Linked DNA regions of Homo sapiens: all the other regions are linked to region 3. The links are contacts of gene promoters, found by promoter capture Hi-C in blood cells and fetal thymus (Javierre and others, 2016). All regions are on one chromosome and are shown on one strand. The core of a region is centred on a gene start or on the middle of the fragment in contact, and the rest is flanking DNA. Distances in the headings are between cores, read along the strand shown. Region 1 overlaps LOC107985337 (a long non-coding RNA gene). Region 2 holds the start of NDUFS7 (NADH:ubiquinone oxidoreductase core subunit S7). Region 3 holds the start of ATP8B3 (ATPase phospholipid transporting 8B3). Region 4 holds the start of APC2 (APC regulator of Wnt signaling pathway 2). Region 5 holds the start of C19orf25 (chromosome 19 open reading frame 25).

Region 1 (2,700 bases), core at 92-2,591, 290 kb before region 3:
TGGACTCAAGGGATCCTCCTGCCTCAGCCTTTCGAGTAGAGTAGCTGGGATTACAGGCATGAGCCCTGCATCTGGACAACAGTGCTTTTAGGAGGAAACAGAGTTGAGAGAGGGAAGAACAGGGCTTGGTTTCGGGGCACCAAGTCTGGACGCCCCCTCCTGCGCTCACACTGGGCCATGTCGTGCAGCATAAACCACAATCAGTGGGGGTCTCTGGAGCCCTGTGGTGGTGGTACGTCTCCTGCCTGCTCTGCTCCCAGGGCCATGGGTCCCTGGGCACCTGCGTGGTCAGGCGTCCAGGCACGTGAGACCCACGGGTGCTTGGTAAAGGCCAGGAGACCAGGCAGGGACCAGGGAGCTGGGCTGAGTCACATTGGTTGGTGGCCTCCACCCTGGCGCCTGCCGGAAGGAGGGTGCTGGGGAGGCCTGGGCCGCCGCTGACCTCGGAGGCAGCCCCATGAGCCTCCTGGGCCTCCAGGGAGTCGGGTGCCTGCTGTCTCAGCTGCCACGCCTCCACCTGCAGTAGGTATTTTGAGCAAAGCTTCCCGGCACTTCTCCGCAAAATCCGCTGAGTCTGTGGTTTTCTCAGGTCAGCAAAAGAACAGAGACTGGAGAGGAAATCGAGCCTGTGGTCTGGGATGTGAGAGGTGCTGGGGGTACAGGGGCTGCAGTGCTAGACCACCCAGGCCTCAAGAACCCAGGGCAGGGGGTAGGATGGGAGGGCCAGGTGGCCCCATTGAACCCTGCCCTGCCCCTTTGCAAAACGGCATCCTGTGCTCATCACACAAGCCGTGCCTCAGTTTCCCCATCTGTAAACTGGGGCATTAGTAGGACTATGTGTTTTAGGGGGTAGGGAATCTAATATATTTTTCCCTTTTTTTTTTTTTTGACAGAGTCTCGCTCTGTCGCCCAGGCTGGAGTGCAGTGGCGCGATCTCGGCTCACTGCAAGCTCCGCCTCCCAGGTTCACACCATTCTCCTGCCTCAGCCTCCCGAGTAGCTGGGACTACAGGCACCCGCCACCACACCCGGCTAATTTTTTGTATTTTTAGTAGAGACGGGGTTTCACCATGTTAGCCAGGATGCTCTCGATCTCTTGACCTCATGATCTGCCCGCCTCGGCCTCCCAAAGTGCTGAGATTACAGGTGTGAGCCACCACGCCCGATTAATTTTTGTATTTTTAGTAGAGACAGGGCTTCGCCATGTTGGCCAGGCTGGTCTCGAACTTCTGACCTCAAGTGATCCTCTTGCCTTGACCTCCCAAAGTGCTAGGACTACAGGTGTGAGCCACAGGGCTCGGCCAATTCTTTTTTTTTTTTTTTTTTTTTAACCTTTGAGGTGAAATTCACATAACATAAAATTTACCCTTTTTAAAATGCACAATTCAGCAGCATTTACTGCCCTCACAGTGTTGAACAAGCACCCCCTCTATCTAATTCTAAAACAGTTCATCCTCAAAAGGAGACTTGTACCCAACAGCAGTCCCTCCCCATCCCCTAATCTGTGTAAGAGGCCTTCAGGGAGAGCTGAGGGGTGTCTTTGGGGGCATTCATCCTTAGCCCCCCAAAACTCCCCTGGGGCAAGGCTGTGGTGAGCAGCCAGCCTGGGGCAGGGCGGGGGATGGGGACAGCTGGTTAGGAGGGCTCACATAGGCTGGGGGACAGAGTCCCTGCTCAGAGGGGCACAGGCTGGGACTAGGAGGCCTTTCCCAGCTCCATAGTGGAGTCTCAGCCAGGAAAAGCCGCGGGCGGCCAGGGGAGAGGGAGGGCGAGCCGGTCTCTGTGCAAGGAGCATCAGCTGACAGGCGGGCTGCGAGGCTCTGGGCCAGGAACTCTGATTTCTTTCCCCCTAGGAAGCTCAGACACCCGCCTCAGCACGAGGGCCTTGCCTGGCACTGCTCCCTGGGACTGCTGGGGCTGGCAGCCTGAAAGAGGGACAGACCTATTGTGGGGGGACCAGGAGCTCTGGATTCACTCCCACCTAGACTCCAGGCTCAGCCACATGCAGTCCGCGGTGATCCTGGGCTGGCACCGGACGTTCGGAGCCTCAGTTTCCTCATCTGTAACACAGGGCTAAGAACAGCACCTGCCTCAGGGACAAGTTACTGCCCAGAACGGGCCTGGCTCACTTCCTTCCACCTCCAAAGCTTTCCTTGACCCCTGACTTGGTGAAGTCTTGGACGTTCTTGCAGTCCGTTAAGCAGTGGTCCTTTTACGAGGACAGGGCTGGGTCTGCCTTGGGCTCGCACAGCCTGACACAGGCCCATATGCAGTAAGTGCTTAACAAATGCCTGAACTGATGCCAGGATGGACTGGTGCTATCAGGAAGGAACCGGAAGCCAGGCCTGGTGGCTCACGCCTGTCATCCCAGCATTTTGGGAGGCCGAGGCAGGCGGGTCATTTGAGGTCAGGAGTTTGAGACCAGCCTGACCAACATGGTGAAACCCGTCTCTACTAAAAATACAAATAAATAAATACATCAGCTGGGTGTGGTGGTGCATACCTGTAGTCCCAGCTACTTGGGAGGCTGAGGCAGGAGAATTGCTTGAACTCGGGAGATGGAGGTTGCAGTGAGCCAAGATCACACCACGGCACTCCAGCCCGGGTGACAGAGCAAGACTCTCTTTCAAAAAAACAAACAAACAAAAAAAAAAGCAAGGAACTGGCTTTCTGCCCCTGGAGGATTCCAGGGTGACAGTCG
Region 2 (2,700 bases), core at 17-2,516, 430 kb before region 3:
CACCTAATTTGAGCCTCTGTTTTCTTTACTTTTTCTTTTTCTTTTTTCTTTTTTTTTTTTTTTTGAGATGGAGTCTCACTCTGTCGCCCAGGCTGGAGTGCGGTGGCACGATCTCAGCTCATTGCAACCTCCGCTTCCCGGATTCAAGTGATTCTCTTGCCTCAGCCTCCCGAGTAGCTGGGATTTAGATACAGGGTTTCACCATATTGGCCAGGTTGGTTTTGAACTCCTGACCTCAGGTGATTTGCCTGCCTCAGCCTCCCAAAGTGCTGGGATTACAGGCGTGAACCACCGCACCGGCCTTTGCCTCTGTTTTTGTAATCATAAAACAGGCAGACAAAACCTCCAGTGGAATTGTGAAAATTAAATGATATGCATGCAGAAAGCGTTCTGCAAACTCTGTTTTGCTAGTTTGGGTGTTTAGTGTTAGTTTTTATATCATTAGTACTGGTTGTAAACTTATCAATTTAAGCAAGATGGAAAATCGAGGGTGTGTCAGGGAAGGGGGAAGTTTGAGCTGAAATTATGACCTCTTAGGGGTGGGAAGAGGAGGCTTTGGGGTTGTGAGGTCTGAGCCCCCTTACTTTGGGATGAGTCCACATCGCGGCGACTCCTCTGCAGAATGCGGTGATGTTGCGGTAAGGGGTCCGGGATAGCTGCGAGGCAGCTGGACCAATCCTGAACGAAAGACATCAGTGATCGCAAGAGGCGCTAAAACTTCTGCCGAAACCCGGGATCGAACCAGGGACCTTTAGATCTTCAGTCTAACGCTCTCCCAACTGAGCTATTTCGGCTGGGCGGCAGAGTCGCTCTCGCCGGGACTCCGTCCCGCGCTGCGCCTTCCCTGCGCAGGCGCAGTCGTTTCGCGTCAGCAGGCCCCACATCCTTTGTAAGGTCTCCCAGGGCGCCGGAGCGCAGTGTCGTCTCTGTGGCGCAATCGGTTAGCGCGTTCGGCTGTTAACCGAAAGGTTGGTGGTTCGAGCCCACCCAGGGACGCGTGGTGACTTTTGCCCTCCTGGAATAACAAGAAAATGAGTGTCGCCTCTGTTTTTGTCGGTCCGCCGCAGACCCGCGGCCCCCACGTGCGCACTCCGATGACCTTTCCGCCTCGGGTGATCTGGGGGTGCACGGCGCAACACGACCACGGAGGCCGAAAGCGCAGCGGAACCTCCCGGCTCCAGGTTCCGGTTTCCGCATGCGCTCCGAGCCGCTTTGGGCGGCGGCCCCGGGAACCCGGAGCGCTAAGGAGAACGGACCTCAGAGGTTGTCTGAAGGCCGAGGCCAAGATGGCGGTGCTGTCAGGTGAGCGCGGCACCGGCGGCGGGTGTGGGGCCGCGCGGGTCTGGGGCCGTGGGAGCCTCGGGTGTCGTGGTGGCGTCGGGGGTCGGTGCCGGCGTCGTGGCCGCGGTCCTCTCCGGGCTTCTCCGAGCCGGCCGCTCCTCGGGCTCCCCGCCCGGCTTGCGATGAACGGTCGCCGTTATTGCGTCCAGAGTACAGTCGGGGAAACCGAGGCCCGGTAGGTCATGACGCAAGCCTCCAGCCTCAGGAAGGCGCTCGGGGTGGAGGCTGGAGGGGCCCCATTCACGTCCCCGAGACCAGGGCACGGCCCGCGAGGCTGCTCTTGAGATGCCCTGGAGAGAGCGGGGCCTGCCTGACAGGCTGGGAAACTGAGGCCCATTGAGGGTCTTCGAGGTCACAGGGCCGGGCCTGGGAAGGAACAGGACCCAGGACATCCACGCCACCCTGCTGGACCCTCCACCTCCCTCCCCACCCCTGGGAGGTAAGGGCCTCTCGCAGAGCCTGTCCTGCTCCAGGGACTTTTTTGGGATCAGCTGAAGCCTGCGGACCTCTGCTCAGATAAAGTTATTAAATGCATGGAATAAAATCCATAGAATTGCAAGGAAATCAGTTACACGGAGAGGCAGTTATTAAAAGATTGTCTTGAAACCTGATTGGCGACTTAGTAATCTAAGTGCTTCCCTTATGAACGCGATCTAGCGGCAGGTCTAATTGCGACTGTGATTTGGAAGGAGTGAGGAGTGGAAATGAGGCTTTGATGATACGGAAACGTCTGCAGCCCCTGCACCATAGCTAGGAAACATCTGTGATTCCGCTTGGTGAAAAGTTACAGGTCCTGCTAATACTGCCGTATTTTGTTGTCTATGCTAAGAATTTTTTATTTATTTATTAAGACAGGGTCTGCCTCTGTCGCTCAGACTGGAGTGCAGTGGTGCCATCTTGGCTCATCACTGCAACCTGTGCCTCCCAGGCTCAAGCGATTCTGGCACTTCAGTGTCCTGTGTAGCTGGGACCACAGGTGTGCGCCACCATGCCTGGCTAGTTTTTGTATTTTTAGTAGAGATGGGGGTCTTGCCCTGTTGCCCAGGCTGGTCTCGAACTTCTGAGTTCAAGCAATCCTCCCACCTGAGCCTCCCAAAGTGCTGGGAGCCACGGCACCCAGCCTACGCTAAGAATTGAATGAAGGGCTAATTTTCCATAAGATGCTGGTGACAACAAAGACATATATATTTTTTTATTCCAAGCAAATTCACAGTTCTGAATCCTCACCAGGCCCCTTGTTAAGAATGCCTGGCCCACGCGCGGTGGCTCACGCCTGTAATCCCAGCACTTTGGAAGGCCAAGGTGGGCGGATCACCTGAGGTCCGGAGTTCGAGACCAGCCTGGCCAACATGGAGAAAC
Region 3 (2,700 bases), core at 188-2,687:
CATAGGCTGTGTGTCTTGCCTTGGACATCCTGAGACCTAGGGGACCCCAAGATGATCCTCAAACCTGCAACAGCCCATCTGCCAGTGTCCCCCGCCAGCCACCCTGGTCGCCTCCCGCCAGTACAGCCTAGAAGGACTCTACCGCCAGCCATGCCAGCCTCTGGCCATGCCAGCCTCCGGCCACTGCTCCCCACACCTCGCTTTTCCTGAAAGGACCACTCTCACCTCCTCCTGGTTTCACTGACGGCCTCCTGCCCCTCTCCCCATGTGGCACCAGCTTAGGGGCTCAGTCATCTGTTCACTGACTGAATGGGACCCCCGGGCTATATGTTATATCTCAAAACACAGCATGAGGGTCAGGCATGGCCACTCCCCTCCTCACCCCCCCAGGCTGGGCAGCAAACTCTGATGGGGGCGATGGAGGCAGACGGACATCGTCAGAAGATCCTGGAATCTTCTCCACTAGCAGGTTCAGGAATGTGGGTCTGGCTCTAGCCCTGCACCGGGGGCCCTGGTTTGGCCCCCTATGAGGATGGGCAAACCACCCCTAGACGCCAGCAACTGGCCCCCCACCTGCCAGCTCTCTAGCAGTGCCCTCCCCGCCAAGCCCCTGCCCCTGTGTTCCGGCCACCCGATGCACCCGTCCTCACCCTTCTGGTCTCCATTCATACTTCCTAGCCCGGCCAGGCTGGGCCTTGTGCCTCCTCTCAGGTGCCCCTCTGCCTGGGGAGTCTCCCATCCCAGCTCTGATCACCGTCTCACCTCCGCGGATGCCAGCAGGACCTGAGCCTTCCTGAGTCACGTCTGAGTCACCCGTGTCCCCAGGTCCTGGTGGGGCAGGGCTTGGCTCAGGGCCAGCTCTGGTGCTCCTGGGAGTCTGAGCGGGGCCAGTGCCCATTCACCGCATGAGGAAAAGGGAGGTTCAGGGCGAAGAGGGGTTTAGGCTGTGGGACGGGGGAGAGGTGGGGGAGACCCCCGTGGGGGCAGACTGGGGATTGGAGAGTTGGAGAGAATGCTCAAATGGCCAGAATCCACTCGAAGTGTATCTGGGGGCAGAAAGAGACACGGACACAGCGCTGGCTTCCTGCCCCCTCACTAACTGGGATGCCCCATTACTCGGAAGCCCCCCACCCCGTCTTCCCGCAGCCGCAGGGGCACAGGACCGCCCTGGACAGGGCTCCAGAGTCCAGGGCTGTCTGCACCCGCCCCGGGGCCCCGACCGCGCGAACCTCTAGGGGCGCGCTCTCCACCCCCGCCGCCACGACCCCAGCTCTCAGCCTGGGTGGAGCCCAGAGAGGGTGCGCGGGCTCCCGGGGACGCACAGCAGTGGGAGCACCCGCCGCTCACCGGCGCAGGAGAGGCAGGGGGGGGCAGGCCGCGGGCGTCCAGGGCGGCGGACGTGGTGGAACCGTTAGCCCGGTGCCAACGGTCCTGAAACGGGGGGCGGGATCTCGGGGCGGGGCCTCGGGGCCCGGCCAAGGCGAAGGTGGAGCCAGTTCGGACCCCGGAAGGGGGCCGGGGGCGGGGCCTGGAGGGGGTGGGTGGGGCCAAGGCGAAGAAGGGGCGGGGCCTCGAGGGTGGGGCCGAGCGGAGCACGGCCGAGCAGGATGGGGGCCAGGCCTCAGGGACGCGGTCACGGCCGAAGGGCGGGGCCTCGCAGAGCCTCGCAGAACAGGCCGGGATAGAAGACGCTCGGGAGCAGTGCCTGGGTCTGGGGAGGGGCCGGGACTTTGGGGAAGGGACTAGAAGGAAGGCGAGGACGAGCGGGGTCTCGCTGAGCAAAGTCAGAGTAGGGGCGGGGCCAGGACTCAGGGGCTTGGCCAGAGCGGGAAGCGGGGTTGAGCATGGCCTTGCGGAGCAGTGTTATGGTAGGGGCGGGGCTGGGATCCGGAGCCGTTACAAAGGAGGAAGGCGGGGCCGCGCAGAGCAGGGTCAGGGTAGGAGGGCGCTCAGGGTGGGTCCAGGACAGAAGGCAGGGCCTTGGGAGGGCCTTAGGGAGCAGTGCCAGTGCAGGGGCGGAGCCTGAAAGGGAAGAGGGTGTCAGGGCAGGGCCGGGCCGGGCTTGGTCAGGGAGCAGAAAGAACCTGCACCGCAGGGCGGGGTTGGAAGGGTTCTTGGAAAGGTGGGCCTGGGTCAGGTCGGAATGGGCCTTGCAGACCTGACGGGGCTGAGGCTGGTGCGGCCAGCGTGGCAGAGTGCAGGAGGAAGGACCACAGGTAACGGCGGTTATGTAAGTCATGTCTGATCCGTGTCCTGGGTTCGTTCATTCATCCCATACACGTTCAACGAGCGCCTCCTAGGCGCAGATGCAGGGCTGAGCACCAGGCTGGGGAGAGGCGGTTATAGCCATTGAGACCACCCTAAGGCCAAGAGGAAGCCCGCAGGGTTCTTTCCAGCAGGTGGCAGGGGCTCAGGGATCCTTACTGAAGAAGTGGCAGGGGTGAGTTCAGCGACGAGGCTAGGGCGGGTCCAGGCCAGCGATAGGGCCTGGAGCCAGGGTCAGAAAGTGTGTGCGGAGGGGCTGCTGAAGATGAAATGCCCCCAAGAGTGAGGCTACCTGGGGTGAGGGCCCAAAGGGAGAGGCAAACATGGGTGGAGGGGGATAGGGAAGCCACCTCCCCCATCAAAGCGGCAACCACCTGAGGGCTCTCGGTGATCACAAACCCTCTTTCTTTGGAAGCCCAAATTGGAAGCCTGCTT
Region 4 (2,700 bases), core at 201-2,700, 360 kb before region 3:
TCTCTACTAAAAAATACAAAAAATTAGCCTGGGCGTGGTGGCGGGCGCCTGTAGTCCCAGCTACTCGGGAGGCTGAGGCAGGAGAATGGCGTGAACCTGGGAGGCGGAGCTTGCAGTGAGCCGAGAACGTGCCACTGCACTCCAGCCTGGGCTACAGAGCAAGACTCCGTCTCAAAAAAAAAAAAAAGAAAAAAAAGAAAAAGAAAAAAGAAAAGATCCCCTGTGTCTGCCCACTGCATTGCCTCCCCAGACCCAACCAGTGGGGACAGCTGCGTCCAGCTCTGGGGGCTCCCAGACAGCCAGGCCGAAGGGCTCTCAGCCCCTGGCAGTGCTGGCCCGGGACAAGGCCCTCGGGTCTTCAGCTCAAGGCCCAACAGGAAACAGCACGGGTCCTCCCTTGCCTTTGTCTACGGGGCCTTGAATACTCGGACCTTCCCACCCTCTCCTATCATTCCCTGCACCAGCCCTTGCAGAATCTTCCGCCTCCTCTCCATTTTACAGAGGAGGAAACCGAGGGTTGAGCGGCGAATGATTTGCCCTGCCTGCCCAGCACGGAAAAAAATCACTCTTCTGGCCCCAGTCGCCTCCCTTTCTGTGCTGTGAGTCTGTGTCCAGAGCAGGAAGGGCTGCTCCGAGCTGCAGGGACGGGCTCTGTGTGTTAAACCTTCAAATGGCTTCCAGGGACTCATGGAGCATCCAGGACACCTGGAGATGGCGACTCCTGGGACCCCTGGCCCTTCCCTCCTCTGGCCTTCGGTCCGTGAGGGTGAATTAAGTGTGCCACCCACCAGGGGCAGAGACACATGGAGACAGAGATTGAGAGACAGAGAACAGAGGGGGAGACAGAAAGAGAGAGGGACATGAAGAGCAACGGAGTTACAGGAGGATCTGACGCTCCGTTGGGGAGACAGGGAGAAATGTGGGGAGATGCAGCGTCCCAGGTGCTCCCCAGTGGCCCTGCCCCTCCTCCCCTCTCCCCTCCCCACCAGGCAGGACCCTCAGGGAGCTCCAGCCTGGACCCGAACCCTGTCCCACCCTGACGCACCTGCACCAGGCCAGGCTGGACCTGTGGGGTGGGTGCAGGCCTGGCCCCAGCCCGGCCACTGCCCTGGAAACCCCTCCCCCGCCAAGATGCTGATGTAACATCCAGGATTTGATGTTTTACTCTCCAATTCTGCAAATCCAGACGCAGGAGGTTTTAAGAGGCCGTTGCACCCTGCAATAAAGTGCGGGACACAGGAATCTTGGTCCTCGGGGCACCCCCTTCCCTCGGGGGGGTTTCGCCCCCCGCACTCACGGCCCCTGAGCCCGCGCGGAGGCCCGACGCCCCGCGGCCGACGCCGGTCCCCGCCCCGGGCCGCCATTGGCTGTTGCCATGGCACCAGCCCGTCTTCCCGCGCCCTCATTGGCTGTCTCACCCGCATCCCTCATCCCGCATCCTCCCCCGCTCGCGGTGGTCTCGCCCAGCGCTAGGAGCGGCAGCGCCGCCTGCCCAGGCCCGGACCGGGCTTTGTCCGCCCCGGAGCCCCTGCCCGCGCCGCGGAGACCCCGGAGCCCGCGCGCTCCGAGGCCACCCCGGGCCGGGATTTCCGGTGGGGCCCGCGGAGCCGCGCAGAGGGAGGAGGCCCCAGACCCAGGCGCCCCGCCAGCCCAGCTGCACGTAAGCGGGTGTGTGTCCTCGGGGAGGAGGGCAGGGGCGCGACCTCCGCCTCGCGTCGAGGTTTCCATCCCTGGCTCTCAGCATTGCCCGTCAGCACAGACTCTGGACCCTCCATTTCCCCAGAGTGGGAGCTGGAGGGGAAACTGAGTCCCGGTGAGCTGGGCGTCAGCGTTTCTGCAGCCGGTCCTGCGCACACACCCACTCACGGGCTTCACCATCCGGACCTCCCTGAGGTGATCGGAGGAAGGGATGGGCAGGCCAGTGGTGTGTCTTCGGGGGTGTTGCTGCACCTCTCTGGGTGTCAGTTTCCCTCTCTGGAAAGAGGGGGTTTGGATTAAAGGAAGGAGAAAGGCCCCTTTGGGCCTGGCTTCCCATACCTGTGCCTCCCTCCCCTGAAATGCAGCCCGCTCAATAAGACCAGCCCCCAGTCATGGTGCCTTCAGGGAGTGATCGCTCAGGAAGGCCCCCAGGAGGCTACACGATGCAACCTGGGGGTGAAAGTAGGCAGAAGAGCTTCGTGGAAGAAGCTGCACTGTGTGGGATGGCAGGACTTAGAAAAGGTGCTCTAGGCAGGGCAACTGCACGTGCAAAGGCCTGAGAGAAGAGAGCCTCCAGCCTCTAAGTGAGTCGCGGTGTACATGGAGGAGTCGGAGCGTATCCTGAGGGCACTGGGGAGCCATGGAAGGTGTTTGAGCATGGGAGAAATGGGATCTCACTTGTGACGTTTAAAGCTCCCTCTGGCTGTGCATGGGGGACTGTGGGAGGCCAGGAAGAGGCTGATCAGAATGTCCTCACAGAGGGGTGTCAGGAGCTGGGGGAGGCATGATCCCGCTGGGCAGAGCTTGGAGGGACTAGCTTAGTCTGATGAGGATGCAGAAATGACCACCGAATGTGGGGAGAGGGAAGGTGTCTGAGGCTTGGCTTCGGTCAGCTGAGAAGAACCACGTGGGGGAGGCCTGGGTTTGGGGAGCAGGAGGCAGACATGTGTTGCTTTGCACGTCATCTGGTCCTTCCACCTGGCTGGGCATGGGATGGTGACC
Region 5 (2,700 bases), core at 82-2,581, 330 kb before region 3:
GGCTGGAGTGCAGTTGCGTGATCTCAGCTCACTGCAACCTCCGACTCCCAGGTTCAAGTGATTCTCCTGCCTCAGTCTCCTGAGTGGCTGGGATTACAGGCCCATGCCACCACACCCGGCTAATTTTTGTATTTTTAGTAGAGACAAGGTTCCACCATGTTGGCCAGGCTGGTGTCCAACCTCTGACCTCAAGTGATCCACCCACCTCGGCCTCCCAAAGTGCTGGGATTATAGGCGTGAGCCACCGCACCGGCCACTTATTTATTTTTGAGACACAGTCTGGCTGTGTTGCCTAGGCTGTATCCTCCCACTTTAGCCTCCAAGAAGCTGGGGCTACAAGTGTCCACCACCACACCCAGTAATTTTTTTTTTTTTTTGAGACAGTCTCGCACTGTCACCTGGGCTGGAGTGCAGTGGTGCGATCTCGGCTCACTGCAAACTCTGCATCCCGGGTTCAAGCGATTCTCCTGCCTCAGCCTCCCGAGTAGCTGAGATTACAGGCGCCTGCCACTATGCCCAGCTAACTCTGTTTTGTTTTTGTTTTTGTTTTTGTTTTGTTTTTTCATTTTTAGCAGAGACGGGGTTTCACCATGTTGGCCAGGCTGGTCTCGAACTCCTGGGCTCAAGCGATCCTCCCGCCTCATCCTCCGAAAGTGCTGGGCTTACAGGCCTGAACCACAGCGCCCGGCCTCCACCCCTGTCAGAAGAACCCTCTGAAAATCGGTCCCACTCTACGGAGGAGTAGAGGGAGACTCGGAGAGGATACGGACCGTGCCCATGTTGCGGGGGTTCCCAGGGCGTGGGGTCAGGAGTTAGGGGTGTGCTTCTCTCCCGTCCCCTTGCTGCCGGGGTCTCAGGTCCGCTTTTCCCCGGGACCGGGCTCCCCCTACCTTCCGGGGCCAGGATGGTGAACACTGGATCCTCTGCCGGCGCACCCCGCACATCCTCCAGGATCTGCTCCACCGTGGGGGGCGCTGGGCGGGTGGGCAGCAGCACGCGCTTCTTTGCCTTGGAGCCCATCTCTGAAGGCGGGGAAGGGGGCGCTGACCGGGGCGTCCACCTCTCCGCCCTTGCCCGGGCTGCTCCTCCCGCCCAGCGAACTCGTACGCACCCGTCGCGGTCCCGCTCCCGGGGAAGCCCGCCCTGTCCCGCCCCTCTGAGCTCGCCCCAGGCCCTGACCCTCCCTCCGCCCAAAAACACGGTGGCCAAGGCTTCAGGGTCTGGCTCAACCTCTGCCTCAGTTTCCCCGCGGTCACCCCAGTCGCCGGCCTCTTCCCACCTGGGCGCGGGACCCGAAAGCCCAGCGTCGACGACGCAGCCACTTCCGATTCCGGTCGGAGCACCGCCCCGTCCCCGAACACGTGACACACACTTCCGGCCTCCTCTCCCGCCGGCCCGCCGCTCATCGCGGGGCTCCGCCCCGTCTTAAAGGGATAGTGCCCTTGAGACTCGGATCTCAGCCTCTCAGGCGAACCCGAACCTGGACGCGCTACGATGAGAGCGAGTTCGAGTCCAGGCTCCACTGGCTGGGTAGAAAAGCATCCGAGGCTCGTCTTTCTGAAAAGGGGAACACGGCACTAGGGGACACGCCACCCATGTGGCTGACGGGAGCACAAAATTGCTGTCCACCTAAGGGAGCCTGGTGGTGCATGAGCACTCGGCGGCCGGAACACAGCGGGGGCGGGGCGGTCGCGGCGCCTCCACTTCCGGCCAAGGCGGGTCCTCCCACCTCGGGGACGGTGCTGGAGGTCACCTTTTCCTCTCCGCTGATGCCTGGGAAGGCAGAAAGAGCAGAGGGCCCTTTTCCTCTCTCAGGGGCTTTATTGAGATGCAGTTTACATACCATAAAGTTCTCCTGTTTATTTCGTTTTGTTTTGTTTTTTTAGAGACAGAGTCTCACTGTGTCGCCCAGGCCGGAGTGCAGTGGCGTGATCTCAGCTCACTGCAACCTCCGCCTCCCGAGTTCAAGCAATTCTCCTGCCTCAGCCTCCCGAGTAGCTGGGACTACAGGCGCCCGCCACCACGTCCGTCAAAATTTTTTTTTGTATTTTAGTAGAGATGGGGCTTCACTGTGTTGCCCAGGCTGGTGTCAAACTCCTGAGCTCAGGCAATCCGCCCGCCTCAGCCTCCCAAAGTGCTGGGATTACGGGCGTGAGCCACCGCGCCCGGCCAAATTCGCCTGTTTAAACTGTAAATTCAGCCTGGGCGCGGTGGCTCATGCCTGTAATCCCAGCACTTTGGGAGGCCGAGGCGGGCAGATCACTTGAGGCCAGTTTGAGACCAGCCTGGCCAACATGGTGAGACCCCGTCTCTACTAAAAATACAAAAATTAGGCTGGGTGTGTTGGCTCACGCCTGTAATCCCAGCGCTTTGGGAGGCCGAGGTGGGTGGATCACGAGGTCAGGAGATCAAGACCATCCTGGCTAACATGGTGAAACCCTGTCTCTACTAAAAATACAAAAAGAAAAACAAAATTAACCAGGCATGGTGGCGGTTGCCTGTAGTCCCAGCTACTCAGGAGGCTGGGGCAGGAGAATGGCATGAACCCGAGAGGCAGAGCTTGCAGTGAGCCGAGATCGTGCCACTGCACTCCAGCCTGGGCGACAGAGCAAGACTCTGTCTCAAAAAAAAAAATATTGTTGAGAGAGAAGGAAGGAAGGAAGGGACAGAGAGAGGGAAAAGGAAAGAAAGAGAAAGAAA

Evidence for each region. Contacts are between HindIII fragments. The CHiCAGO score rates a contact against its expected background, and 5 or more counts as called.
Region 1: a contact is called between a fragment that was not itself captured here and the fragment with the promoter of ATP8B3 in region 3, in 1 of 17 cell types (megakaryocytes). The highest score is 5.2, in megakaryocytes.
Region 2: a contact is called between the fragment with the promoter of NDUFS7 here and the fragment with the promoter of ATP8B3 in region 3, in 2 of 17 cell types (M0 macrophages and total CD4 T cells). The highest score is 5.7, in M0 macrophages.
Region 4: the fragment with the promoter of APC2 here is called in contact with the fragment with the promoter of ATP8B3 in region 3 in 1 of 17 cell types (naive B cells); the score reaches 6.0 in naive B cells.
Region 5: the fragment with the promoter of C19orf25 here is called in contact with the fragment with the promoter of ATP8B3 in region 3 in 1 of 17 cell types (naive B cells); the score reaches 6.1 in naive B cells.

Annotation. Positions count from the first base shown.
Region 1 is chr19:1,519,995-1,522,694 of GRCh38, forward strand. It overlaps LOC107985337 (a long non-coding RNA gene), which reads left to right. Exons shown (of 3, transcript XR_001753835.2): 3 at 1,853-2,483. Among named protein-coding and RNA genes, the nearest start is that of PLK5, 2.7 kb to the right of the region's middle. The HindIII fragment of the contact is 1,605 bases long and covers 540-2,144 here.
Region 2 is chr19:1,382,641-1,385,340 of GRCh38, forward strand. NDUFS7 (NADH:ubiquinone oxidoreductase core subunit S7) reads left to right here and starts at 1,267. Exons shown (of 8, transcript NM_024407.5): 1 at 1,267-1,302. The coding sequence starts at 1,287. It overlaps TRF-GAA1-6 (tRNA-Phe (anticodon GAA) 1-6), which reads right to left and starts at 794; the gene lies at 722-794. TRN-GTT2-6 (tRNA-Asn (anticodon GTT) 2-6) reads left to right here and starts at 923; the gene lies at 923-996. RefSeq lists silencers at 637-766, 947-1,086, 1,337-1,396. The HindIII fragment of the contact is 18,765 bases long and covers 1-2,700 here.
Region 3 is chr19:1,810,839-1,813,538 of GRCh38, forward strand. ATP8B3 (ATPase phospholipid transporting 8B3) reads right to left here and starts at 1,438. Exons shown (of 29, transcript NM_138813.4): 1 at 1,348-1,438; 2 at 651-1,046. The coding sequence starts at 898. RefSeq lists enhancers at 946-1,691, 2,072-2,231 and a silencer at 1,152-1,521. The HindIII fragment of the contact is 25,835 bases long and covers 1-2,700 here.
Region 4 is chr19:1,448,671-1,451,370 of GRCh38, forward strand. It overlaps APC2 (APC regulator of Wnt signaling pathway 2), which reads left to right and starts at 1,451. Exons shown (of 15, transcript NM_005883.3): 1 at 1,451-1,668. RefSeq lists a silencer at 1,298-1,497. The HindIII fragment of the contact is 28,474 bases long and covers 1-2,700 here.
Region 5 is chr19:1,477,884-1,480,583 of GRCh38, forward strand. It overlaps C19orf25 (chromosome 19 open reading frame 25), which reads right to left and starts at 1,332. Exons shown (of 3, transcript NM_152482.3): 1 at 1,280-1,332; 2 at 891-1,022. The coding sequence starts at 1,020. RefSeq lists enhancers at 517-1,017, 1,379-1,498 and a silencer at 1,109-1,158. The HindIII fragment of the contact is 20,570 bases long and covers 1-2,700 here.